Regions from separate parts of the Homo sapiens genome. Here all the other regions are linked to region 1. Evidence: promoter capture Hi-C in 16 types of primary human blood cells and fetal thymus (Javierre and others, 2016). All regions are on one chromosome and are shown on one strand. The core of a region is centred on a gene start or on the middle of the fragment in contact, and the rest is flanking DNA. Distances in the headings are between cores, read along the strand shown. Region 1 holds the start of RSPH3 (radial spoke head 3). Region 2 overlaps EZR (ezrin). Region 3 overlaps SYTL3 (synaptotagmin like 3).

Region 1 (3,963 bases), core at 207-2,706:
CTTGGGAGGCTGAGGCAGGAGAATCGTTTGATCGGGGAGGAGTGGGGGAGGGGGGCGGAGGTTGCAGTGAGCGGAGATCGCGTCATTGCAGTCCAGCCTGGGCGACAAGAGCGAAACTCCGTCTCAAAACAACAACAGCAACCACCACCACCACCACCACCACCACCACAAAAAACCAATCTGTGGTCCTGCATGGAAGAATAATCTTACTCCTGCTCAAAGCCTGCCGAAGAGATTTACTCGGCTCCCATTTTGGATATGCTACTGTTGGATATCTTTGCACCGCGGTCTCCTCATCTGCATAATGGAGTTATAAAATCAACTTCACAGCACTGTGGATTAACTAAGAAAACGTATTTGAATGCCCCCCGTAAGGTGCTCAGCACGTAGTTGGCCCTCAATACACACTGGTACAATTCAAACTTTGTGAAATGAGCCAATTCGTGTACATGTTAAGGACCACGGCAGCAACTCATATCACTAAAAGTTAACTGATGCCCAACCCATGCCCCTTCCTGCTTCACTCCTCCACACCACGGGAGATTCCTTAGGGCAGAACTTTTATTTCGGCAGAGTGCAGCCAAGGGAAGACAGCATAAGCAGCTTTTTTGCCAGGGCGAAGGGGCCAGACCCCGGCCTGGGGATGGGGTGCAAGTATGGACCACACAGGGGCTGGCTTGGTCACTCACGGCTGCGTCAGGCTGTCCCGGTAACGGCTGCGCTGGCAGGGCAGTGCTCGGGGCCGGCTGGTGTAGGTGTAGGTGCTCGGGGCCCGAGAGGTGCGATCAGTCAGCGCTGAGGCCATGTCCGGGGGCTGACTGCCTCGCTTTCGGTGGAGCTTGGCTTTGAAGCAGGTGGGCGCTAAGGTGTTGTGGGACCCGGAGAGATGTAAGTAGTGCCAAGGGCAAGGATTCCGCGACGCGAGGAGAGGCGACAACAAGGGAGGCGGGCGGGACGGGAGGTTACCAGCGCAGGAGGTGGGAGCTATACTGGGCTCGCTCCCAGCACCACAGAGACCAGCTGCGGGGGCCGCATCGGTTGCCCAGCAACCCAGGGTTCTGTCTGGGGGCGGGAACTCCGGGCAGTTCCGGTCCCCAGGTTTCCCGGGAAGGACTGCGGCACAAGGGACTTCCGGCTCTTGACTCCGCCCAGCCGCGCCACCCAGGTAGGTGCGCCTGCGCTTTGCGAGGTTCCTGGCTAGGGAGGCGGCCTTGGCTGGCTTGACCGTCATCCTTGAGGCCTGCGGGGCAACGGTGGCTGTCCTTGGCCCGGCTTTGGAATGTGGCTTTGCAGGGCTGGTGTTGGCGCCATTCTCGCAGGCCCACGTGCTCCTGCTCTTCCAGGGTGTCCTCGGCTGTTTCTCCTGCCGCGGCGCAGCAGCGCTCCCAGGCTGCCCCCGCGATAACACGCCCCTGGCAGCCAGGCTCCCAGCTCTGTTACGTGCCCGGGCGGGGAAGAGCTTCCTGGTGTCTCCCGGCTCCTGCCCTTCTCCCGCCCCAGGGGCGGGCTGCCGCCGCCCTCTGCAGCTGAGTCAGTGCAGTTCCTCACCTACCTTCTCTGCTCACCGCTGTGTGCTAGCAATCGGAGGACCCTTGGCACACGGAGCGACAGGGGCCTCCCCCACAGACACCTCATTTTGGGAAAGAAGTGAGCAATTTATTGAGTCTTAAAAAATACAAAGGCATAGTTCCCCTTAATCTATCAGGCTTCCAGCTCTAAAGAATGTCTCTAGTATTGCGGGGTGGGGCTGCGCTTAAAAACGCAGACGCTTTGGTTTTAGTACCAGCAACGTTAAAAATCTTCTATCTTGTATGAGTGAATGTGTATCCCTTGTGATCAGTTATTTGCATTTGCAGTTACACCTTCATTCAGCTAATTGCTGTCTTGATTTGAATCCAGGTTCTAGAATGTACTAGCTCCGAAACCTCAGGCAAGTTAAATGTTTTTGTGCTTCATTTTCCTAATCCACAAAGTGGCAATAGAAGAATTTATCTCTTTAGGTTTTGTCTTGAGGATTAAAACCGTTAATACTTAGAGCTGTGCCTGGTAAATGGCAAGCCTTTATATTAAGATCTGGACCGTTCTGTGCTTTGAAGTGTATGACCTAAAGCAGATGTAGGCATTCTATAAGTAACACTAGCATAAAGGTGTATGGTAAATTCTAGAGGTGAAAACACTCCCAACATATTTTAGGTCTGATCATTTAATTTTGAGGTAATTTCTGAAAGGGCTAGAGGAGAAAGTGACATTTAAGTTGTGTTTGATAAATGATAGTATTTTAACTGGCCAGCCTCTTGGGGGAAGTGCATTCGGAATGGCTTGATCAAAGGCTCAAGAAGCCCAAGGTGCATTTGGAAAACTGTAAGCAAGGTTTGTGTAGATGAGTTGTAGAAATATATATAGACAGGCTGACACCACATCGTGGAAACAGTAAACACTAGCATATTAATTAGAATATTTTTTCCCTCAAGTAACAAAAAACCAATTCCAAGTGGCTGAAATAATAAGGAATTCATTATTTTACACTCCCCAGGTTGGTTAACCTGGAGGGTAACTTGGGGGCTCAGCACATTATCAACAACACGTTTTTTCCCCTACCTTTCCACTCTGTCACCTGGGTTGTTGGCTTCAACAAAGTAGTAATAGAAGTATCTGCTCTTTTGTCTTTATTGGAAGAGCAAAACCCCCTCGTAAACTCCCAACTGACCAGAATTACATCATATTGATTTAAGCTTAGGATCTATATAAGACCACCATATTTGGATTAGACCAGGTAACCGGTCTTTCTAGGCCTCCAAGAAACACTTGGCCAGGGAGGAGGAGAACAAATTCTGTTAGGAGGATGTTGGGGCAGAATTGAGTGGGTATTAAGTGGGTAAACAATAGTGCTATACCAGCCACAGTGGGCTTTATAAAGAAATTGATAGCCACTATAGGTTCTTGTACAAGTTTCTTTCTTTTTTTTTTTTTTTAGATGGAGTCTCGCTCTGTGGCCAGGCTGGAGTGCAGTGGCGCGATCTTGGCTCACTGCAACCTCCGCCTCCCCGGTTCAAGTGGTTCTCCTGCCTCAGCCTCCTGAGTAGCTGGGACTACAGGCGTGTGCCACCCCGTCCAGCTAATTTCTGTATTTTTAGTAGAGGCGGGGTTTCACCATGTTGGCCAGGATGGTCTTGTTCTCTTGACCTGGTGATCCGCCCTCCTCAGCCTCCCAAAGTGTTGGGATTACAGGCGTGAGCCACTGTGCCTGGCCTGTACAAGTTTTTATCCACAGCCTGTTTCTCTTCTTGTACTTTCTCCCAGGGCAGTCCCATTTCACGTCTGTAATTTCTAGTACCACCTATATACTCAGGGTAGCAAAGGATGTATCTCTAACCTAGACTTCTCCCTCAGGTGACAGTCCTGGATATCTGACTATTTTGTGGACAACTCTTGGATGATCTGAAACTGAAAGATTCATTCCACAAATAGTTATGTGTATCTAGTATGTGCCAAGCATTGTTGTTTTCTTGTCCCTCGTCCCCACTCCCCTGGTGTTAGTGGGGATATAGCAGTGAAAAACAAAAACAAACAACAGATTAAAAGTCCTGCCTTGACAGAATTTATATTCTAGTGGAGGAGTCATACAAACAAGAAAAGTGAGTACATTATGGGTGTTACATAATTATAATAGCTAATTCGAAATAAAGCAGGAAATAAGGCTAGGTGCTAGGGGCATGGGAGACCTATCAATTTTATAGTGGTCAGAGAAGGCTTCATTGAGAAGGTGACATTTGAGTAAAGACTTGAAGGAGGTGAAGAAATGAAACTTGAGACTTGTGACTAATTGTCACAGCATTCCAGGTCAAGGAAGCAGCCAATTCCTCGTTCTAAGGCAGGAAGTCGTGTTGGGGATGGCAGTAAGAGTGAGTGGAGCAGAGTGAGCACAAGGAGGAGCATTCGGAGATGAAGTCAGAGGCTGGGCCG
Region 2 (3,766 bases), core at 261-2,760, 230 kb before region 1:
TGGCACTGTCACTTCACTCCAGTGACTCCTTTCAGCATCTCACTCCTATGAGGCCATCAGCTCCCAAGGGCAGGGGCCACACATTCACTCATCTCTTATCTTCCCAGGGTATTTGAGGTGTGCAGTACCTGCCAGGCACTGCCAGCTCGTGCAGCACAGACAGCCACGTGCGAGCTCCACAGCCTTGAGCACATCCCTTCACCAGGCTCAGTGCCTTCAACCATAAGGCAGGGATGCCGGTATCTCAAGGGACTTCAGATATGGGACTCAATCCTCCCAGCAGTCCCATTAGATGCTGGCGTCCCCGCCTTATCGGTGACGTTCAGGAGGTGCTCGGCGCAGGAAGAGCTGGCTGACACACACAGCGGTCACTCCAATTGCTAGTGCCTTGCAAGACCACAACCAGAGGAGCCTCCTGGAAAACAAGGCAGAATCACAGCCTTCGGGAAACTCGTGACCATGACTGGAAACATTTGGGACACAGCTGACAATCTTGGTCCCAACTCCTTGCTACTGCTGTGATTAGCTTACAAGACAGAAGAATATGGTTTAGAAACTCCCATGAAAAGTTATTTTTCAGTGACTCTGTTGGCTTCCTCTTAACCTCAGGGCCCCCAGCATCCAGCTTCTGACCATTTGGAACAGAGGGACAGGGTGGCTAAAACAAAAAAACAGTGCGATATATCCCACAGCAACTTCTGAGACCTAACGAGGAACCGGCTGAGCGGGCTCATCAACACATCCGAGAAGAATCTATTTAGCTTCAGTCTTTTCATCTGTTCCAGAAATCCTAGGGTGAGAGGTGATGCCAAGCCCTGAGAGCCCATGAACTTCCTGGGTGGGGCTGTCTTTGGGGTTTCACACCCTTGCTGTTAAGTCATTGGGTTTCCCAGGGAGGAGTCTGTGGAGCTGGGAGCAATCGGCATTTTTATGACCCACCTATCCCTTATTACACAAGAGGAAACAATCCTGCATTACAGCTTTGGAGGACTCTACCAAATAGGCCCTGACTCAGAAAACGCTGATTAGCACCAACTCCCCTTTATGGGGTTGTGGGGGTGCATGGGTGGGGGGATCAATGAAAAACCTCAATGGTTAACATAACAATGTCTCCCTCTCTCCCTTTCCCTGCAGAAGACAGGTCCTGCCAGCAACGGGAACCAGAATTTGGGGAGTCCACTGCCAGTGGGTGAGGGAGGATGGTGCCTGGCAGGAAATCTCTCCCAGTGCCTTTGAAGGAAGCCGGTTTCTCACTTCAAGTTAAAACAAAGACTCATACTGAAATGTTTCTAAATCCAAGTCCCTAACCTGATGCAGGATGCAGCTTCCTGATGCAGAACCACAACACGACAAGACCTGGAGCAGGGTTTTTAAACTGGCCGAGGACCAGCAAGGTAAAAATGCAAACCAGGCACAAGGAAAGTTCAAGAAAAATAAACCCAAGACCCTACAAATACAGAAGGAGAGAAGGTAAAAGAGCCCCTTTTCAAGTCCCCAGGATGCCAGGAAACTCTCCCACAAGAGGCCAATCCCAAGGCTCATCTGGCCGCAGAGATGGCAGGAGGCAGCCGCGGGAGGCAAAAAGGCAGCGGGGCTCCTGGGAAGGTCACGTGGGGGAAGCGTCCGAGGAGTCAGAGCGGAAACGCTGCTTACTTTCTCCAAATTTCAGATGCCTCAGAGCCTTCTGCCTTTTCCACAAGGCCACAGGAACAAAACGCCCTTTTGAAAGGGAAAAGGCAGCCGCCTCAGCCCCTCATAGTGTCACCTGGGCAGGCCGTGTCAGCTGTATACAAGGTCCCATCTAAAGAGCCAAAGTGTGGCCCCAAACTGCTGTATGCACCTTGGCAGGGAAGAGAAGCTGGCTTTTAAAAAGGAGACGCCAGTTGTTGGGTGAGAACTGGACAAAGACTCATTTGTGAGTTCACAGCAGAAACCGCCTGGGGTGAAGATGACCCGTGAAAGTCAACACAAGATAAGGAATCCCACCGCCTCAAACTTTGGGCCTCTTCTTTTTTACAAGAAAGTTCGATGTCGAAAACTTGAACTTCTTCTGCCCAAAGTTTACAGACTGAGGTGGGGCAGTGCCTCGAGCAGCCCTGGGGTGCTGTGGGGGTGACAGAACTCCACCTCCTCAAACCAGCAGTGCCCACTCAAGGCAAATGCTGCCTCCTCAGTGTGGCTCCTGCCCAACCTGCCTAAAGGAATCTCACCCCCATCTTCTGATCCGGCTTAGTTTTTAATCACAGCTGTACTGTTAAATTTACTACCAGGAAGCATCTCAGTTGCCTTTTTAACCCTTTCCTTCACGTAAATGTAGGCTCACCAGGGTAGGAGCTTTGCCTTGTTGATGGTGCACACAGCCCTGGAAGAGTGCCTGGGACAGCGTGCCACCAGCGAATGTTTCTTTTGCTTACGAGATGGCTTCACATGAGGCTACTCTATAATAAAGGCACATGCACGAGATGCGTTACAATGGCTTCTGCTTGGGGCTTATTATGAAAATATTCTTCAGCTTTTCAAGAGATGGACTTATCATCAAACACACACACACACACACACACACACACACACACACACACACGCACAAACATTCTGAAACAGTCTAGTCCAGAGCTGCTGCTCTAGTCAAATTTTTAATAAGTGTTCTGAAAAGGCAGTAGCGTCACAGAGTACGTAGTAGCCTACTGATGAAGAGATTTCAGCATTTTCTTGCTCTTCTAAACTGTGCCAATCTTACTACCCAAGTGACATGAAGACGCTATGACCCTCCATTCATGCTGTTGCATAATATGAACTGCTGCCATGGAGCCTTAGAGTCTGCATTCAATACGCGTTTAATTTTAAATAACCGTGCAACTACCCACAGAGTAGCAGCCAAGAGTTTGCAAACAGCAGGAGCCCTTTTTTTTTTTTTTTTTTGAGACGGAGTCTAGCTCTGTCACCCAGGCTTGAGTGCAGTGGCGATCTCAGCTCACTGCAACCTCTGCTTCCTGGGTTCAAGCGATTCTCCTGCCTCAGCCTCCCGAGCAGCTGAGATTACAGGCGCCCACCACCACGCCCAGATAATTTTTGTATTTTTAGTAGAGATGGGGTTTTCACTGTGTTGGCCAGGCTGGTCTCGAACTCCTGACCTCGTGATTCGGCCATCTCAGCCTCCCAAGGTCCTGGGATTACAGGCGTGAGCCACTGAGCCTGGCCAAGACGTTTTTAACAAAGAAGAAAATACTTTCACAAAATTGTCAAGACCTGCTGATTTTAAATTATGCTAGACAAACCTGTATGTGGGGAGAAGTAACAGGACAATAACACCACATACTGTTCTAAGTGGATTTACCATTGCTAAGCAGTACCCAGTCCCAAAAGGGTTAACAAGACAACCAAGGTATGGACCACAGCCCATGTTTGCCTCTCCAAGCTTAACACTGTAACTAAGGAACCAAAATTACATGAGAACACAAAGTCCTTTCCAATCTATAATTTTCGTAAAATTCAGAACAGGCTCTAAGGTGGTAACAGAATTTCTTCAGGTGGCAATTTTTTAGAGAACTAGATTTCTGATTAGATAACAAAATCCTTACCCATTCTACAATGCTACAGTTATGTGCGTATGTCTCAAATATTCTGAGTTAACAAAAGTTTAAATGTCAGCAGAATAAATAAAACCAAATTTACATAATGCACTGGTCTTTGCAGCTATTACAATCAATACTATCAGATTTCAGGACATAAAGTGTCGCCTTCTTACCATGTCCTCCCAAAATGACTG
Region 3 (3,923 bases), core at 252-2,751, 250 kb before region 1:
CAAACTCTTGACTCAGTTAGATATAATACAGACACCTATATGTTTCTTCGCAGCTCTGTCAATCAGTGTTAAGTTGGTAGAAAATAAATGTCAGCCTTTGTACAGGAAAAGTGCAGAGTCTGCCAGACTCAGGAATGGCTTTTGATTAATGATTTCTGAGAAGATGGTGAAAAAGAACCTGGCTGCCTCTTTGTCTCGGGCTAACACCGGGGCACAGGATAATTTTAAACATTAGTTTGTCTTAGTGAATGTTTCTGTCAAAGAGGTGCTCTCAGACAGAGTGCCCTGAAAATTAAACTCCTGAGTTACTGTCTTTGTAAAAGTGCCCCTTTATTGTATTTCTGACAAACTCAGGTTTCTTCTAATTTTATTTTTTTTAAATGAATCCTTTTATGAAAAATCTTACAAAGGAATTGTTTGGGTTTTCACTTTCTATGATACTAGGAAATGTGATTGATGGTTGAGGGCAGAGATGGGGCCATGCGCTCTGATGTCGGGTGGAAGGCTGCAGCTGAGGTCTGGTATCTGCAGAGAGCTGGCTGTGGTGGCCCCAATCTTGGTGCAGGGTGAGGGGGGTAGCCCAGAGCTGCAGAGGCTACCCTGCCGGGGCTGGGCAGCCAGAGGTCCCCTCGTCTCATGCCTATGACAGGAGAGGGCTTTGTTTGCCTTTCTTGGCAAGTAGGGGGTGTCTGTGAGCTGCCAGCCAGGGGCCATCTGGGCAGCTGGCACAGAGCCCTGAGTTCATTAAATAATAATAGCCCTTGTTTCCTGGGTCCCTACTGTGGCCAAGTGCTTTATATACAGCCTGGGGTAATTATTAGAATCCTCATTTACCCACGGGGAAACTGAGACCTAGAGAGTCCTTAGAAATACAGCTCAAAGCCACAAAGGACTGGCAGTTCTCAAAATTTGTGTGCGTAAAATCCCATGGGGATTTACATTTTTAAAACATTTCTTCTTTTCTTTTTTTTTTTTTTTTTTTTGAGATGGAGTTTCACTCTTGGTCGCCCAGGCTGGAGTGCAGTGACATGATCTTGGCTCACTGCAACCTCCACCTCCCAGGTTCAAGCGATTCTCCTGCCTCAGCCTCCTGAGTAGCTGGGATTAAAGGTACCCACCACGATGGCCAGCAAATTTTTTGTGTTTTTAGTACAGATGGGGTTTCACCATGTTGACCAGGCTGGTCTTGAACTCCTGACCCCAGGTAATCTGCCCACCCCGGCCTCCCAAATGCTGAGATTACAGGCTTGAGCCACCACGCCAGGCCTAAATTTCTTATTTTCTAAGATGCCCCTGTACTTAGAACTGGGGATTTTTTTAAAATGCAGATTCTGGGCCGGGCGCGGTGGCTCACGCCTGTAATCCCAGCACCTTGGGAGGCTGAGGCGGGTGGATCATGAGGTCAGGAGATCGAGACCATCCTGGCTAACATGGTGAAACCCCGTCTCTACTAAAAATACAAAAAATTAGCCGGGCGTGGTGGCGGGCGCCTGTAGTCCCAGCTACTTGGGAGACTGAGGCAGGAGAATGGCGTGAACCCGGGAGGCAGAGCTTGCAGTGAGCCGAGATAGCGCCACTACACTCCAGCCTGGGTGACAGAGCGAGACTCCGTCTCAAAAAAAAAAAAAAAAATGTAGTTATATAATTGGAGTTAAAAGGTTACCTACCTTAAAATGTACACAGAATCTCAAAGATATCACTTAAAATTTTTATCCATGGGTCTTATCTAGTATATTGTGAATATTTTATAGTCCTGGGAAACTTTCCAGTTACAATTAAAATAATCGGCATCTCTAATTGATCCTAAATGCAAAATAACCCAACACCGGCCAGCCTCATCCTTAATAGAAATATGCATAAGATGCGAAGGATGGGAAGCCGGGGAGGCCGATCCAGCATTAAAAGTCTCGCTAGAAGCCAGTATTTCCAATCACAATCACACCTTTGTGCAGCACCCAGGCTTTGTGCGACCTGAGGTGAGCCATCAGAGTACGATTCAGGTGGATGAGGCTGTGAGAACTGTCTCCAGCCAGTTTTGAGAGAAGTGCACATCAAATGCGAGGATCTAGAAATTGATCCTCAAATTTTTCTGAGCAGAGTACTTCTTGGCAAGCCTTTCTGGACCCAGGGAGACTTGTACCCCATTTGACACCACTGTCCTGGGGGCCTGGAGAGGATGAAGTGATCTCACTGGGTGACATTGGTCATTGCCTGGCCCTGCTCTCAAATGATCCTTACACCTCATTCCCAGCTGAGCCTGGAGCAAGCCTTGTGGACCTAACAGGGCTATGGAAAATAGGTCTGGTTTGAAAAGGTAGATTCTAGGCTGGGTGTGGTGGCTCACGCCTGTAATCCCAGCACTTTGGGAGGCCGAGGCAGGCGGATCATGAGGTCAGGAGATCGAGACCATCTTGGCTAACACGGTGAAACCCCGTCTCTACTAAAAATACAAAAAATTAGCTGGGCACAGTGGCGGGCACCTGTAGTCCCAGCTACTCGGGAGGCTGAGGCAGGAGAATGGCGTGAACCTGGAAGGCGGAGCTTGCAGTGAGCTGAGATCACACCACTGCACTCCAGCCTGGGCGACAGAGCGAGACTCCGTCTCAACAAACAAAACAAAACAAAGCAAAGGTAGATTCTGTATGTAGCAGGGAGTAGTCCTATTGACAGAAAGGGGCGAGCAATGGGTAAGGACCCAGGAGAAGTGGCTGAGCGTCGCCCACACACAGCTGGAGATGAGAGAGCTGCCTGGGGGCCCGAGCCCGACCCTGCTAAGTGGCGTGGCGTTCTAGTAACCGCTTCATTTCTCAGAGGGCAGCAGATGCAGCTGGCCAGCTGCCTGGACTAACTGATAAGGAGTGTAGCTGGAATATGGGGAATAATCACATCAATCCAGAGTTTATAGACAGAGATTGAATGTGGGGCAGAGTCGGAAATGGACCCATGGGCTGGGTGTGGAGGCTCACGCTTGTAATCCCAGAACTTTGAGAGGCTGAGACGGGTGGAGGGCTTGAGCCCAGGAGTTCGAGACCAGCCTGGGCAATGTAGAGAGACCCCATCTCTACAAGAAATTAAAAGATTAGCCGGGCATGGCGACGCCTACCTGTAGTCCCAACTACTTGGGAAGCTGAGGTGGGAGGATCGCTTGAGCCTGGGAGGTGCAGGCTGCAGTGAGCTGAGATGGCACTGCTGCACTCCAGTCTAGGTGACAGAGTGAGATCCTGTCCCCCCAAAAAAGATATGGACCCATAGACTTGAGGGAAAACTGGCTAAAAGTTACCCAAAGGCAGGAGAAAAGGGAATGTGACCCAAGAAATGCCCATCTCCATGGCCACAAGCCACCCCAGCGGGGAGGAAAAGGAGGAATGAACTGAGGAAGCTAACCTGGCCAGCCAAGCCATTTGTGCCTGGCCCGCAGACATCAGAAGTGTGGACAGAGCCTACAGGCAGCCCCCAACAGAGCAGGGGACGGCCCTGCTGCGCCTCCCCTCTGTTTGCAGAGGCTGAAGGAGGGAAATTACCGTGTCTCAGTTCCTGTTTTATTCCATCTCGTTCCTCGATTGGAAAGATGGGTAAAGGTGGGCATGAGGAGATGAACCCCAAAGCAAACAAACCGCACAGCTGCTGCAAATGGGTGCAAGTGTCCAGCCTCACAGCAACAGCCGTGTCACGAGGAGTCACCATTCAAACCCCAAACAAGCGCCGGAGTGGGGGCAGCATGGGCCACAGAGGTCAGCAGCGAGACTCGGGCCTGGACACAGTCAGTGCACGTGAATCTGGCCTGCAGTGTCGGCTACCAGACCAAGGGAGGGAGGGTCACTGAATTTCCAAGCTGCTTTTTTTTCACCTGCAACATGGTTTGAATTATACTGACCTCATAGGGTGCGTGTGAAAGCTAAAAAGATCAATGCATCTAGAAAGCC

What was found. Contacts are between HindIII fragments. The CHiCAGO score rates a contact against its expected background, and 5 or more counts as called.
Region 2: a fragment that was not itself captured here is called in contact with the fragment with the promoter of RSPH3 in region 1 in 1 of 17 cell types (total B cells); the score reaches 6.2 in total B cells.
Region 3: a fragment that was not itself captured here is called in contact with the fragment with the promoter of RSPH3 in region 1 in 2 of 17 cell types (total CD8 T cells and naive CD8 T cells); the score reaches 6.0 in total CD8 T cells.

Annotation. Positions count from the first base shown.
Region 1 is chr6:158,998,746-159,002,708 of GRCh38, forward strand. It overlaps RSPH3 (radial spoke head 3), which reads right to left and starts at 1,457. Exons shown (of 8, transcript NM_031924.8): 1 at 690-1,457. The coding sequence starts at 805. It overlaps TAGAP-AS1 (TAGAP antisense RNA 1), which reads left to right and starts at 1,128. Exons shown (of 5, transcript NR_183546.1): 1 at 1,128-1,647. RefSeq lists enhancers at 200-1,171, 656-805, 826-875, 906-975, 1,146-1,305 and 2 more. The HindIII fragment of the contact is 7,152 bases long and covers 1-2,730 here.
Region 2 is chr6:158,772,134-158,775,899 of GRCh38, forward strand. All of the region lies in intron 8 of EZR (ezrin), which reads right to left. Among named protein-coding and RNA genes, the nearest start is that of MIR3918, 9.3 kb to the left of the region's middle. RefSeq lists an enhancer at 466-1,665. The HindIII fragment of the contact is 3,806 bases long and covers 1-3,413 here.
Region 3 is chr6:158,752,115-158,756,037 of GRCh38, forward strand. The region is part of intron 13 of SYTL3 (synaptotagmin like 3); the gene reads left to right. Among named protein-coding and RNA genes, the nearest start is that of MIR3918, 11 kb to the right of the region's middle. RefSeq lists an enhancer at 3,197-3,781. The HindIII fragment of the contact is 4,980 bases long and covers 1-3,923 here.